Regions from separate parts of the Homo sapiens genome. Here region 1 is linked to region 2. The links are contacts of gene promoters, found by promoter capture Hi-C in blood cells and fetal thymus (Javierre and others, 2016). All regions are on one chromosome and are shown on one strand. Each heading gives the region's core, a stretch centred on a gene start or on the middle of the fragment in contact. The rest is flanking DNA. Distances are from core to core; before and after follow the strand shown. Region 1 holds the start of LCE2D (late cornified envelope 2D). Region 2 holds the start of LCE3A (late cornified envelope 3A).

Region 1 (6,930 bases), core at 2,479-4,978, 40 kb after region 2:
AGCTAAGGAAAATGGCAGGTCCCAGATGAGGCAAAACAGATGCAGGACAGTGTTAGGAAATCTCTTAAAAGTTATGCTAATATCAAGACCTGAAATGAGTCCCAGTTCTGGCAGGACCACGACACATGAATTCTCCAACAGTTCTCTGCCTGGAGTTCATGGCCCTCTAATGTCTATCACCAAATGTGACTTCAGCAAAGAGCCATTCTGGACCTGGGTTCTCAAGCCCCACTTTCCTGTGAAATCATCTCTTGTTAAAAATTAGGGGATAAAATTGTCCAGAACTTAAAATTAAGCCAAAAAGTAATTTCGGATCAGTCTTTTAAATTTTCACTTCTTCCTAGTAACTAACAACCTTGCCTAAGATTTATAAGACTCTAGATTTTTTTAAAAATAATTGGTGGGATGATTTTGCTTACAATATGTGGTGTTGATTAAGGCCCAGACTCTGTAAAGCTAGATTGAACTTACAGAAGATTTATAACCTCATGGTTTCATTGCCTTTTAAAACTGTAACCAGTATGTATCTAAATTTGCAATCTTGTTTTAGAATTTTTTCCTCTGACTGTATATAATTTGTTGTCTCCAATTCTTTGAACCAGCATTACCATCATGCTGGTTCCCTTATTAACAAGTGAAACAAATCTTTGATATATGTCTGCTATATATTAACATATATAAATATACTTTTAACTTTTTGGAAGTTATAGTTAAATAAACCCTTATCTCTACACTTACTCTTTTGGGAGTGAAAACAGGCCCAAACCAGACAGTGCCAGACAGTATCAACAAGAAGATCAAAAGGACTACAAAGATATAGTAAAGGGAAAATTTGGACTAGTGAATCTATTAAATAAGGTGAGATACATCAAGATACATGGTAAGGCTTTTTCTTGTACTGTGGCTAAAATAAATTTCCAGCATTTCATGGGGAATAATTTTCTGGAATATATGCAGTTTAAGCTCCCAGGGAGACAAATCAAGGAGCTACATGGAGAGACCAGCCTGCAGGATACTGACTTTCCAGATGAGGTGAACTTCAGATGAAATGTCTGAAATCACCCCCAGGCCATTCTTCTTATGACACCTATGTGCTCCTTCATGAGGTCTTGCAATCATGCATTGATCCTGCCAACATTCGTGTGGCAATGGTTTGGCTGGTCCCTGAGGGAACATGGGCAACTTGACACAGGGTCTCCTGGCTCAGAGGGATCACATATGATGGTGTGAGGACTGTGGAGACAGAAGCAAGAATACTTGCAGGCAGGTGTTTCTTCACTGACTTGTGAACCAATTCTCAACATTTTCTGAGTTATAAAGGGACAAAGGGGACATGTTAAAGAGCTGCTTATCTCCCAGTTCTGGTTTCCCAGGGGATCAGATCCCATTAGCTCTTCCATTGCTTATTCAACCACTCAATACAGATGTTCATGTATCTGCATGTTCATTTCACCTGCACTTTTATATGAATACAGCATACACACATACAGTGCACACATGCACACACGCACACACAGGCTTGCCTCCCCTACTTCCTCACTTACAACATTGTTACAAATATCTTTGTCAAAGAGTATGAGGAAGCTGAGGGTGATATCACCATGAAGACAGTGGAATGAACTAACATCTTTTAATCACATTGGGAAATAGTGACTCAGGAGGTTCAGTCCCCAAACGTCATCTTCTTTGGTACCCATGTTTGTCTGCAGTCATCTTCAAAAGGGCCAAAATTCTACAGTCCTTGAGGTCATGGGCTACTTATTATTCACCTCTATATCCGTATGTTTGGACATACATGATCCAAGAATGTTGTAGGCTTTCAAAGAATGCCTTTTGAATTCACTGCCCTGGTCACACTGTTGACTTACTTTATCCTTCAGGTAAAAGCTCCCTGAGAGCAGGAATCAGATCTGATAATAGGATTGGATAACTAGGAGAATAGAATCCCTCAGTTAGAAGCTGACAATGGGAAACTATACTTTCTCCGCATCCTCCCCTCCCCCATAAGTAGGCATTAGGCAATGTGAAGGCGCGGTCTGTTTCTGTTTTAATCAGAGGTGTGAATATTTTTTTCAATTCTAATTTTAACATCTTTATTGAGACGTAATTCACATATTGTATAGTTCACTTGTTTAAAGTGTAAATTCAATGGTTTTCAGTATATTCACAGAGTTGGACAATCACCACCACAATTTTAGAACATTGTCATTACTCCACAAAGAAAACCTGTATTCATTGGCAGTAACTTCCCAATTTCTCCCAGCCCGCTAAAGCACCTGGAAGCCACTGATATTTCTCAGAGGACAGGCATAAACATAAAAGGAGATACAGGGAACAGAATCTCGTCCAGGCTCCCATTCCTCGGATGTCCTGAGTCAGCTCTTCAGGGGTCCAGCCTGGGAGAGGCTGTAACTGGCTAAAGCCTCATCCCCTTTCATTTCCAGAGATTTGCCTACTCTACACATTTCATATAAATAACATCATACAATATGCAGTCTTTTATGACTGGCTTCTTTCACTTAGTGTAATGTTTTCAAGGTTCACACTCAATGTATCTGTTTAAACTAAATGAATAAATGACTGGGTAACTCTGTCTAGTGCAACCCTGAATCAGAACTCTGAATAACTAGACCCCTGGCTGACCCTCTACTTCCTGGTAGGAAAGGAGTTCCCTCTGCATAGGAGCCCCAAGAAATGATGTGTACTTCCCAAGAGAGGTTTCAAATAATCTCAGTGTCTGATTGAATTAAACCCTCTGAGGGTAAGGACTCTATACAGGCAATTAATGACACATAAGACCTGGGCAAGTACCCAACACATGGCATTAGTTTTCTTTGAAACACATATTTATTAAGGGTCTATCAGGCATATAGTGTTGTACCAAGTTTTTTCTTACTTCTTATTTAATATTCAAAACAGCTCAGTGAGATAGGTATATCTGGTTTATAATGGCCATTACATATGAGAACTGATACTCATAGTGAGTATCATAATGACACTCTAGCAATTGTTGATAATTGTTCTAGCTACTTCTATAGGTTACCAAGTTATCATATGCAAGTTTCCTGATTCCGGCAATGGATTCAATACAATTGCTTCGACTAAAGGAAACGTTTAGATTTTAGAGGGAATTGCTTATTCTCAATCATTCTCCTTGCTCTAGGAGACAGAATCAACTCAGATTTAATTCAGTGAAAGCTTGTCATGATGAGTCTGAGGAAAAGCAGAAACTCAGAGGCCGAGAGGAAGGACTGTGAGCCTAGTCAAGGGAGGGATGCCTAGAAAGAGCCAAGGCTGTAGAAGCCCCCTGGGATGGCTGGATGCACAGCAGGACATGGAAGACAAACTGCTCAAGGTGCAGGGAGTCATAATGGAACATTTCCACAAGGTCAGGGAATGCTGTGGCTCAGAGCTGATGTAACCTCAGAGGACAGGAATAAAAAAGATGCAAGGAACAGAACCATGTCCAGGCATGGGTGCCTTGGGTTCCCTAAGTTAACTCTTTAGGGCTCCCACCTGCTGGAGGCTCTGACTGGCTAAAGCCTCTCTAGACCACAGCCCCAGAGAGGAGTCCTAGAAGCTCCCGAGGCCTCTTTGGGTGCAGGGACTAGGAGACAGGAGAATGTCAGGAATGACCCAGCACGTGCCTGGTTGTGCAAGAGCCACCTCCTGCTCTTCCCAGAGCCAAGTCTGAGTCCTATAAAAGACACATCCAGCTTCAGCACCTCATCTGCTCTGACTCCCCAGGGACGTGTCTGTGCTTTTGCATGTGACCAGGGTGAGTGGCAACCTGGGATACCAGAAGGGTATTAGCAAGGTAGAGGGATGGGGAGGATGGAGGTAGGCTGGAGAAAGATAGTTGTGCGCTTGTGTTCTCCCATACTGAGCAGGAATAGGACTCAGTTTGCCTCAAATCTCTAGAAGCTCTGGGACTTGCTGGAGCTCACGTAGAAGGGAATAGCTAACTGTGCCCATCTTTCCCAACTCTGTCTTCAATGACTTCATGTTGGCCATCTTGGGCAGATTTGCACCATGGAAATTGTCAAATGCTTCAGGCCAGGCCCTTTTACCTGGAGTTTTCATGGCTAAACATTTTCCAGAGGATCCCTGGTGTGTCTACAGCACCCATCTGGGCGCTGGGGCTTGTATTAAGAGAACAGGTACTTCATGGAGCTGTGAATACTCTATTCAGGCTTGTGAAGATAGAGCAATCCCAGCTTCCCTCTGAAAGGAAGAATATGAAGCTCATTCTGTTGATTTTTTAATCTATGTACTTTTATCTGGAAGAAAGATTCAAGTTGTTTCTTTCAGGTTACTGATGTGACTGTATTACCTAAATATCATTCTTCTTCTACACATGCATTGATTTTAGAGGAGGCATAATTATGACCTTTGGTTTGAAATATTTAAAGAGTTTCATTATTATCTTTTAGGTTGACTAAACTCCTGCCAGGATGTCTTGCCAGCAAAACCAGCAGCAGTGCCAGCCCCCTCCCAAATGTCCTCCCAAGTGTACCCCAAAATGTCCACCTAAGTGTCCCCCCAAATGCCCACCACAGTGCCCAGCTCCATGTTCCCCTGCAGTCTCTTCCTGCTGTGGTCCCAGCTCTGGGAGCTGCTGTGGTCCCAGCTCTGGGGGCTGCTGCAGCTCTGGGGGTGGTGGCTGCTGCCTGAGCCACCACAGGCCCCGTCTCTTCCACCGGCGCCGGCACCAGAGCCCCGATTGCTGTGAGAGTGAACCTTCTGGGGCCTCTGGCTGCTGCCACAGCTCTGGGGGCTGCTGCTGACCTGGGCTGCAGAAGAGCTCTGGTACTGAATGGTCAAAAACCTGCTACAGCCTGATGCTTAACTATTTCCCCTTCCTTTCATTCCACTCATGGGTGGACAGGGACCACAAAGACTCATGGGGCTTCCCCAGAACTTTGTGCTTGATGGAGCACCCCAGATGGAAGCCTTCTTTTTCTCCTTTACCTCATATTGTAATAAAGCTCTGATTTCTGACTCTTTAAATGTCTTGGTCATACTCTTCTCTTCTGAGATTTCTAATGTCTTCTAACGGTCAGGGCCCCAGAGAAATTCTCTTCATGAGGCAAGGACAGGACATGAGCAAGTGATACATGAAAGGCTGCTCCGAGGAACTGATTACCCCAACTGCAGGGTAGATGGAGCTCCAAGATGATCACCTCTGGCAACGGCAGCTTTGACTTTGTCCCCACTAAGCCAGACATATGTTCTAATTTTCTGTGTATTCCAGACATTGGGAAGGTTGGGAAGCTCTGTAGACTTGTTCTTCTCTAGGGAGAAGAACACATCTCTATGAAGCAAAACTTCCCTGCTGTTCGAATCAATAGTTGAATAAAATGCTTGAAACGAATGTTGAGACCCCTCCTCCTGCAAAGTACAGCCCATGGTCAGTGAACTCCCTTCCCAGGAGGGTGAGTCTGGTTAAGATTCACTTCTTGACTTGCTCTCTCAGACACCTGGCGTCTCTTCCTCTCAGTGTGAAGGGAAAAGGGACACAGCAGGGGGAAATAAGGACTAGTGCTTCTTAGGTTCAGGCTGACAGGTGTCTACATGAAGATGATGGATTCAGTGCAGAGAGATTCTGTCAGAGGTGGAGTCTCTTATTAAGATGTTCATCTGCCTCCTCATCCTTACTGCTGCTAAGACAAACACCCAGCTGTTTAACCAGTCTGAGATTCTGTACTCTCCGCATTTTAAATCACCCACTGCACTGAGTCAGTTTATTTGACTTGATGCTCTTCATTATTTTTTCCAGTCTCATTATTAACTGAATTTTCAAGTCCCTGACCAGTAGTAATTTTGAGCTTCTAAAAATATGTACATTGGCCATTTCTACAAAATTTGTAATATGATTTTAAATTTTCTTTTCAATTTTCAAGAGCTCTTGATATATCATGGATATTAACCTTGATCTGTGTTTATTAAAATATTTAATGCATCAGATTTAATTGAATCCATTTATAATAGCTTTTGCTATGGAAAGATTTTTAGTTTTTATATACTCAAATATGACTTTCTTCGCTTTTATAGCTTCAGGGTTTCCTGAGTTGGTTAAGAAGTTTTCCCTTGTCCTTAGTGTTTACATGTGAGCAGCAAAACAAATGAAAAAACCAAACAGTACAAAATGGAGTGCCAAGCATGGGACCTAAGGTTGCCCGGGGCAGTTGAAGGCTGGCCTACAGAGAGGTGGACACCCAAGTGTGCTTTCAGGGACCTCTGCCTTAAGTAAGAGCAACCCACCGGCCATTCCCTTCCCCAGTGGGCCTGCTATCTGGGCCTCCATGTGCTCCTTTCATAGTGAGCAACTTCCTTTCTCTATCTAACCCTCCATACACAGAATAATTTCCCATCTAACTTTTTTTGTTTTAAATTATGCTTTAAGTTCTGGGATACATGTGCAGAACGTGCAGGTTTGTTACATAGGTATACACGTGCCATGGTGGTTTGCTGCACCCATCAACCTGTCAACTACATTAGGTATCTCTGCTAATGCTATCCCTCCCCTAGCCCCCTACCCACTGACAGGCCCTGGTGTGTGATGTTCCCCTCCATGTGTCCATGTGTTCTCATTTTTCAACTCACACTTATGATTGTGAACATGCAGTGTTTGGTTTTCTGTTCCTGTGTTAGTTTGCTGAGAATAATGGTTTCCAGATTCATCCATGTCCCCCCAAAGGACATGAACTCATCCTTTTTTATGGCTGCATAGTATTCCATGGTGCATATGTGCCATATTTTCTTTATCCATTCTAACATTTGTTTTTAGCTGCATCTTACTTTGTGTTTGGCATGTGTGCAGGTGTGTTAGAAAATTATGTTCGGATGCTATCAGAGGAACTCAAAATTACAGCAATTTAAAAAGGAAAGCAGACTATTTCCACTCACATATGATGAAGTCAGAGGTCA
Region 2 (7,621 bases), core at 2,535-5,034:
TTCTTTTTACTTGGAGCAGACATCGACTGGGCATGTTGCAGGCTGACATTTTCCTTGCTCTGCATTCAGTTGGATTATCATACCCTGTGTGTCATGAGTGTCAGTGTAGGTGAGATAAACCTTGGAAAAACATTAAGGCATGAAAGTGGTGAATTTTGGGGGGACTAAGAAAGCTATCTAGTGGCTATTGGCACCTCAGCAGAGCCAACAACTTTAGAAGGAAGAACATAAGTTGCTGATGGCAGAAAATCAGTGGGTGTCCTATTGTTACATAACAAATCACCCCAAAACTTAGTGATGTGAAACAATACACTAAGTGATTGGAATGACAGCCATCTTGGTTTTCTCACAATTTTATGGGTCACAAATTCAGAAAGGACTCAGCAGGGCAATTCTCATTTCATGCATTTGTCGTCAGATGTTGATTGGAGCTGTGGTCATCTGAAGGCTGACTGGGCTGGACATCCAAGAAGTCTCACTCAGATGGTTGGCTGTTGATGCTGGATGCCAGCTGAGCCCTCTTCTGGGGTTGTCACCTGGAGGACCTACATCTGGCCTCTCTTGCATGATGGTCTTAGAATAGCGAGACTTTTTACATGGTAACTGGCTTCCCCAGAGACAGCCTCCTAAGAGGACCAGGTGGAATCTGCATGACCTTTTGTGACCCAGCCTTTGAAGTCACATAGCATATTTCAACCATATTCATTTGGTTAAAGGAGTTACAAGCCCGCTTAGATTCAAGGTAAGTGGACATAGGCCTAACTTCTCAATGAGAGGAATGTCAAAAAAAATTTGAACCATGCTTTAAAATCATCACAAATAGGTATCAGCCAAATCCTCACCCTCTTGTCAGTTCACTCTACATGTTGCTGAAGCCCTAGTATAAATTAATGTTCCCACAGTGTTTTGAAAAGACTCAGATTTTGGTCATGCTTGTAACATATTCAAGCTTTGAAGAGGGTGGCCACTCCTATAACCTTTATGGAACTAGAATGTTCAGAACTATTGCTGCAATAATGATGTCTTACCAAAATATATCAAAGTTATTTACATATGCCAGATAATTATCTAATTCCTGGCCAACATGGTGAAACCCCATCTCTACTAAAAATACAAAAATTAACCAGGCGTGGTGGCTCGTGGTAGTTTCAGCTACTCAGGAGGCTGAGGCAGGAGAATCACTTGAACCTGGGAGGTTGCAGTGAGCAGATATCATGCCACTGCACTCCAGCCCTGGAGACAGAGTGAGACTCCACCTAAAAAAAATTAAATGCAATGGGAAAATAGTATACATCTGTCATTTATATTCAGCAGAAACACTGGTGAAATAAACTTAATTACCACTATTGTCCATCACTTTATTTTTTCTCCCATCAATTATCATTCAATCCCTCCTTTTTCCTAAAGCGTTCTGGCCAATGTGATATGAGCATCCCTGTGTCTGAACCATTCCTATCTCTTGGATCAATAGTGCAGTCAAGTAAATGCTGAAGCAATGTCTGTCATGTCACAGATCTAGACTGCTAGATTTGCAAGTCTGTCATGTCACAGATCTAGACTGCTAATTGGTGGCTCAGCTTTTAATTCCAGCATTTCTGGTTCATTTTGCCTTTATTTTTTAGCTTTGTTTTCCCCTAGACTCTTCAAGGTTTCTCCTGGTATTTAAAAGAGGGGAGGCAATGGGAATGTCCGACTCCAGTGCCCATGTTCTTGGCCTGCACACTATTCTGCCTCCCATTATCTTAGCTTGCTTCCCTTTCAGATCCAACTTCTCTCAAAGGGCAGCTTCATTTCCTCCCTCTGCCAGGAAACCTTCTGCCCAGGGACTCCTGGCTCTTGGGTCCCATTAGTTCCTCTTAGTCACTTTAGCTAGGCCATCACAGGACCATCAAAGGTCATTTTGCAGGCCAGAAACCTCACCCAACACCCACAAATGATACTAGTGACAATGTCTGGACACTTCACTCTTGTCAGGGAAACAGGGGGTTACCATCCAAAGGATAAGTCCCATGGACTTCCCACACACTTATGTAACAGTCCATATCATTCCAGCTCATAAGTGGATTGCTGACTTGTCAGTCGGCATCTCAAGGATGGGAATCATATTTCACACATTTCTGAGTCCTTTGTGTCAACATATATCTGAACTGTGTCCTCAATTCCTGTTGTTTGAATGAATTAATTAATGAATAAAATAGTATAGACAATTAGTTTTCAACAGTCTTGATAATCAAGGCCAGATATTTGGGTGTTACAGGGACTTCCTGGTTCCCTTCTATCAGAAAACATCTGGGCATCTACTGAATAATTATTGAATTTCCTACTGAGGGGCTAGAGTTTGAAGAGCTGTTACTTGGAGTAGAGTCCATCACTATCATCACTCTCCATGTCCCATCTCCTTTTTTTCTGATTCTAAATCAAAGTAGGAGGAGAAAATACCTTGATCAGCAAACATTCTGAGCCAATTCATCCCTGCCCAAGGCCCTGTTTCCCTGCTGCCCTTAGGTTAGCAAAAACGTGAGCTTAGGGTCATAGGGTCAGGGTCTGAGAAAGACGGTGAGGGACAAGGGGAGACAGATAGGTAGATAGAGATAGATAGATAGATAGATAGATAGATAGATAGATAGATAGATAGATAGATAGAAAACAATGATTTACTTTTTCATTTCTTCCAGGGATCACTGAGCTGAGATGTCCTGAAAGGAAAAACTAACAGCACTGTCAGCCCCCTCCCAAGTGCCTAACCCTCAAGTATCCTTTTGGTTGTTTGCTGCCAGTCTATTTCTGTTGTGGTTCCAGCTCTGCAGGAAGCTGCTACCGGAGTCACCATGGGCCCACAGATCCCACTGACATGCCCAACAGAGCATTCTGGAGGCTCCAGTTGCTGCCACAGCTCTGGGGGCTGCTGTGGTCCTGGGTCATGAAGACTACAGAGTATCAGAGTTGGAGGAACCAGAGGACCAAGGACCTGCTCCCATCTGGAGCTTCTCTTCTTCTCTGCCATCTAGGGCTGAGCTACCAAAGTGTTTTCGGAAGGATCTGAACGGGCCCAGTAAGCTCATTCCCTTTGTTTTCCAGAGCTCTGTGTTTATTTCCAACTCATGCTTCTGTCCTTGACCTTGTGAAAGACTGCTCACCTCATTCCCACACTAATATACAACCCCCCTAAAAGGGTTTTGTGAGTTGAGGGGTGTATGACCCACTTGTGTCTGTTCCTAAGATAGGCCTATGTACCCAATGTGGGGCAGCCCCTGTAAGGCAAAGACGGGAACGCACTGGACAGAGCTTGCAACGAGAAAGCACAGCTTTATTCTTCACAGCACAGGGATATTAAAGAAGGAGGGAAAACACTAAGACCAGCAGGATAAATCCCCTGGGGGAGTACTTGAAACTCATCAAGGAACATCTCAGTAGGAAAGAGGAGACAGGAGCAAAGAAGCACCAGGCTAGGGCTGGTTCCAGTCATTTTGGCACTTTCTTTTCTCAAATATTTTTACTTAATCTCGTGGCTCAGGTCAGCAGCAGCCCGCAGAACTGTGGCCACAGCTGGAGCTCCCGCCTTGCTGACCACTTCCCCTGTCACAGGAGTTGGAGCTCTGGCAACGGCAACGGTGAGACCTGCGGCATCTGTGGTGACTCAGGCAGCAGCTGCGCTCGGAGCTGGGCCCACAGCCCCCAGAGCTTGGGGCACAGCTGGAGGAAGCTGGAGGCAGACACTGTGCTGGGCTCTTTGCAGGGCACTTGGGCGGAGGCTGGCACTGCTGCTGGTTCTGCTGGCAGGACATCTAGGCAGGAGGTCAGGGAGCCTGGGCAAAATAAAAGCAAAGCAAAATACGTGTCAATGCAGGTTTCAGGCCAGGGCCTCCTCATGCTTTGGTTTAATTGTGGATCCCTTCCCCTAAACTCAGTCTGCCCTCCAGCTAAGACCTGGGGAAGGGGAATGCAAACGGATCTGAAGTTAAACCGGCCTGATACTGCCCCTTCCTCCGGCCCTCTCCCCTGCCTGGGAGGCAGCTGACACTCCTGGGTGGGCCTCTGGGGCTCCTGCGCACGCCCTGCGGGGCCTGTCACACCTCCGGACCCGATGCGAACAGCTCCCCCTGCAGGCGTCCCGTGAACACAACGCCCATGACCCTCCAGGGTGGCGTCTCTCTGGACGCCTGTGAGCGCAGGGTGTGAGGAGGCAACGCATCTCTGCGCACATGAGGAAAAGGGGGTTCAGAGGTCGCAGCATCGCGGAGCCCCTGAAGTGGCTCGCAGACTTGTCTGTCTTCCTCACTATCCCGCCCATCTCCCATCCCAGTCCCAGCCGGCCACCCACCACAGCCTCTCTGCCGCCTCCACCGTGTCTGCCTCCTCCCCTCTCCTTGTTGAAGCACAGACGTGTTTGCGCAGCCCTTTCAGCCCAGGTCCTCTCGCCAGCTGGACGCTCACCTGGTTTGGTGGAGGCAGGAGAAGGTTCTTCCTGAGGTGATTGTGGACTGAGGAACCCAGGGCCTCAGCCCTTTTATCCTGGGTATTATGATGCACAGCCCAACTATGTGTCCTCCTTTGCTCCCCAAAGGGAGGGGAAGCACCACACACTCCCAAGGACCAGGCTTTCAGCATATTCTTAAGGCGCATATTTTGAGGAATGACAAAAGGGAAGCAGGAAATCTCGATGACGGTCCAATTATCCACCGTTCAGGCCCTCTGGCTGCTGTTCCACTTTTTTTTCTTCATTCAGCTCACATGCTCTGAAGCCAGGGTACGTCCTTTGTGGGGCCTGGTAATATGGGGACAAACAGAACACATTTCTCCCCTTGACTAGCTCACAGCTTTTCAGAAGGCCAGATGGACAACTGAGCAATTAAATCACATCCTATGTGCTAAGCGACGCAGCACAAGTGTGCACAAACATGGCAGGCTGGGGTCACTGCCTTTGGGTGTCAGTCCCCATTGCTTTGTGGATTCCTTTACATAGGTGATGGAATCAGCCCCTGTGTCCTGAGATGTTGGCTGCACTGAGCTCACTGGACCTGGGTTGAGTAAGGGGTGGAAGAATGGAGCTGGGGCCATGGCTTGAGAGGTAGTGTCTTCAGGGAATATCATGGCATCTTAAAGGTGGCATTGGGCACTGTGGGGGCAGAGGGGTAGAGTGGAGGGAGGTGCAGATGGTATAAAAATGTGACCTCCATCTGTGGGATCAACAGAAATCACACTTAATGGGAAAAAAGGGGCATCCGTTTTTGGCTGTCTGTGAAATGTGCAAGGCTGAATTTAATCCTATATATTATGTTAGTAATTCATTAAAATTTCTTTGAATTTGTTGATAATGATGAGGTTGATGGGGTTGTATGCATTTCACTTAATGAATACCTGTGATAATGCTTGAAGTTTGTATATGATGAATTCATAAAAATGGAATATTATTTACTATTTGGTTTTAGTTATATCAGTGATAAATTTATCAGTGAATTCATCTCTAATAATACAATACAATATGCCATAGCCTCTAAATAAAAACCACTGTAATGAATTTTAAAATAATCTTTATTATACTATATATTCTTCCAAGGAAAATAATCACAATTGAGACAATATTAAGTTTCTAATAATCATGAATTTAAATTATATTGTAATTTTAAGCAAAATGTTATTTTGATCAGAGTATATGAAAGCCTGAAGATGCTTGTTCTTTGGTACAAAATACACTGCTAGAGGATATTAGTTCCTTCTTCCCCTTTGCCTATCACTCCACTTTGAACAAACTGCAATACCATGCATTCTTTTAAGAGTTCTATGAGGTCAGGAGTTCAAGACCAGCCTGTTCAACACGGCAAAACCCCGTCTCTACTAAAAATACAAAAATTAGCTGGGTGTGGTGGTGGGCATCTGTAATCCTAGCTACTCGGGAGGCTGAGGCAGGAGAATCGCTTGAGCTGGGGAGGCAGAGGTTGCAATGAGCTGAGATCGCGCAACTGCACTCCAGCTTGGGTGACAGAGCAAGACTGTCTCAAAAAAAAAAAATAGTTCTGCAGAATTATGAATGGAAGAGTGGGAATTCCTGGTGGAAAGCTGGTGAAAGGCTAGGACAGGTGTGCCAGAAGCATGTTTTTAGGAACATGCTGAATGGGGTCCTCAAGGCTTTGTTAAGTTTTAGTGTCAGAGCTATGCTGGAAGTAACTTTGCCCTTATATCCTTAAGTACTCCTACTTCCTTCCCTCAGAGGATATAATAATAAAAAGAGACAATTGCAAAGGATGTGAATGGGCACTTTTGAAATGCCACACTGGGTGTTGTGAATGAGAAGAGCGTAAAGGAAACATAGATCTCTTCGCACTGCTGCACTGACTTTGCTGGTGGAATGGGTGTGAGAGAAGGACAGGAGGGGATCACCTTGAGGGAAGCATGCTGTTAGTGAAATCTGGGCCTCCTGCAGACTTAATCCTTGTCTGAACCAAATGCCTTTTCCAGACACAGCCCAAAAGGTTGAGGAGAATGGGCTGTGATACCTTCAGAGCAGGGAAAGTACTTATCTCTTGAATTGTTGGTTCACCTAATGCTCTTCTTCTGAGACTGCCAGGCCCAGATCAGCAGCAGTCCTACTGACCTGTGGCAGCAACGGAAGCTCCCACCACTGACCACTGCAATACCATGACCATAGGTAGTAACACTGGTGGGATCAGCTCAGGCATCTGAGCTGCTCCTAGAGCTGGAGCCATGGTGAGATGAGCCTGGAAGAGGACTTGGAGCTGGTCAAAGGTAGTCACTTTAGAACGCACTTGGTGAATTACTTAGGAGTGAAGCACTTGATAGGTGTTTGGTATGGCTGATGGCTTTATTGGCAGCTTATCTCAGCAGGATCTATTTAGCACCTATTCAGATGCATCAAATAATAATAAAAAATGTTTCCTTTTGAAATTAAAATCACATTTTGTAGACAATATATAGGTAAAATAAACAAGTTTCAGAAAGAAAATTTTTTACCCAGATTAATTTCTTTAAGATTTCTTTTTCTCTAGATAAGTATAGATAGGTAGCCATATACATGTATTCATAGATATACATGGCCCGGGCCAAGCTCTCGGCTACTTGCAGAAACTCAGCCAAGGGAGGTTGAATAGTGGCTGGGCTGAGAGTCACTTTGCCTTGGCCTTTAAGGCTATACAATTCCAGGGCCGGTTCCTTCTCTGTCTGGACGTCTCTTTATTCTCCAATCTCTTTCCTTTTTTTTTTCTTGTTCCATCATTTTCACCTTTTCTTCTAAGACTTATGAATCCTGCCACAGTGAAACTTCCCTAGTTTCAGACAAGAACTCCTACCTGTGGAGGCAGACTGGAGGAAAGGCTTGTGATGAAGCTCCCTTTCCTGGGAGATCCAGGGCTGGGCTCTGAGGTGTGATATGGCTATCGGTGGAGCAGGTCAAGCCTCTTACACTTGCAGGGCAGGTAAAGGCTCTTCCTGGCATCCTGTGCTTGCTCATTCCTCCTGTGGTGGCCCCATGGAAACTCCCAAGTGGTTGCTTTTTGTTGCCAATGAGGAGATGAAGTTTTGCCAAGGAACACCCTTTCCTCAGGCTTAGTCCCCACTGAGCAGCCTGGGGATTCCCAAGAAGCCCGTCATTGGATTAGAGATTATA

Evidence for each region. Contacts are between HindIII fragments. The CHiCAGO score rates a contact against its expected background, and 5 or more counts as called.
Region 1: a contact is called between the fragment with the promoter of LCE2D here and the fragment with the promoter of LCE3A in region 2, in 5 of 17 cell types (naive CD4 T cells, total CD4 T cells, total B cells and 2 more). The highest score is 7.1, in naive CD4 T cells.

Annotation. Positions count from the first base shown.
Region 1 is chr1:152,659,652-152,666,581 of GRCh38, forward strand. LCE2D (late cornified envelope 2D) reads left to right here and starts at 3,729. Exons shown (of 2, transcript NM_178430.4): 1 at 3,729-3,778; 2 at 4,434-5,008. The coding sequence starts at 4,455. The coding sequence ends at 4,787. The HindIII fragment of the contact is 10,570 bases long and covers 3,197-6,930 here.
Region 2 is chr1:152,619,319-152,626,939 of GRCh38, forward strand. LCE3A (late cornified envelope 3A) reads right to left here and starts at 3,785. Exons shown (of 1, transcript NM_178431.1): 1 at 3,516-3,785. The coding sequence starts at 3,785. The coding sequence ends at 3,516. The HindIII fragment of the contact is 6,916 bases long and covers 948-7,621 here.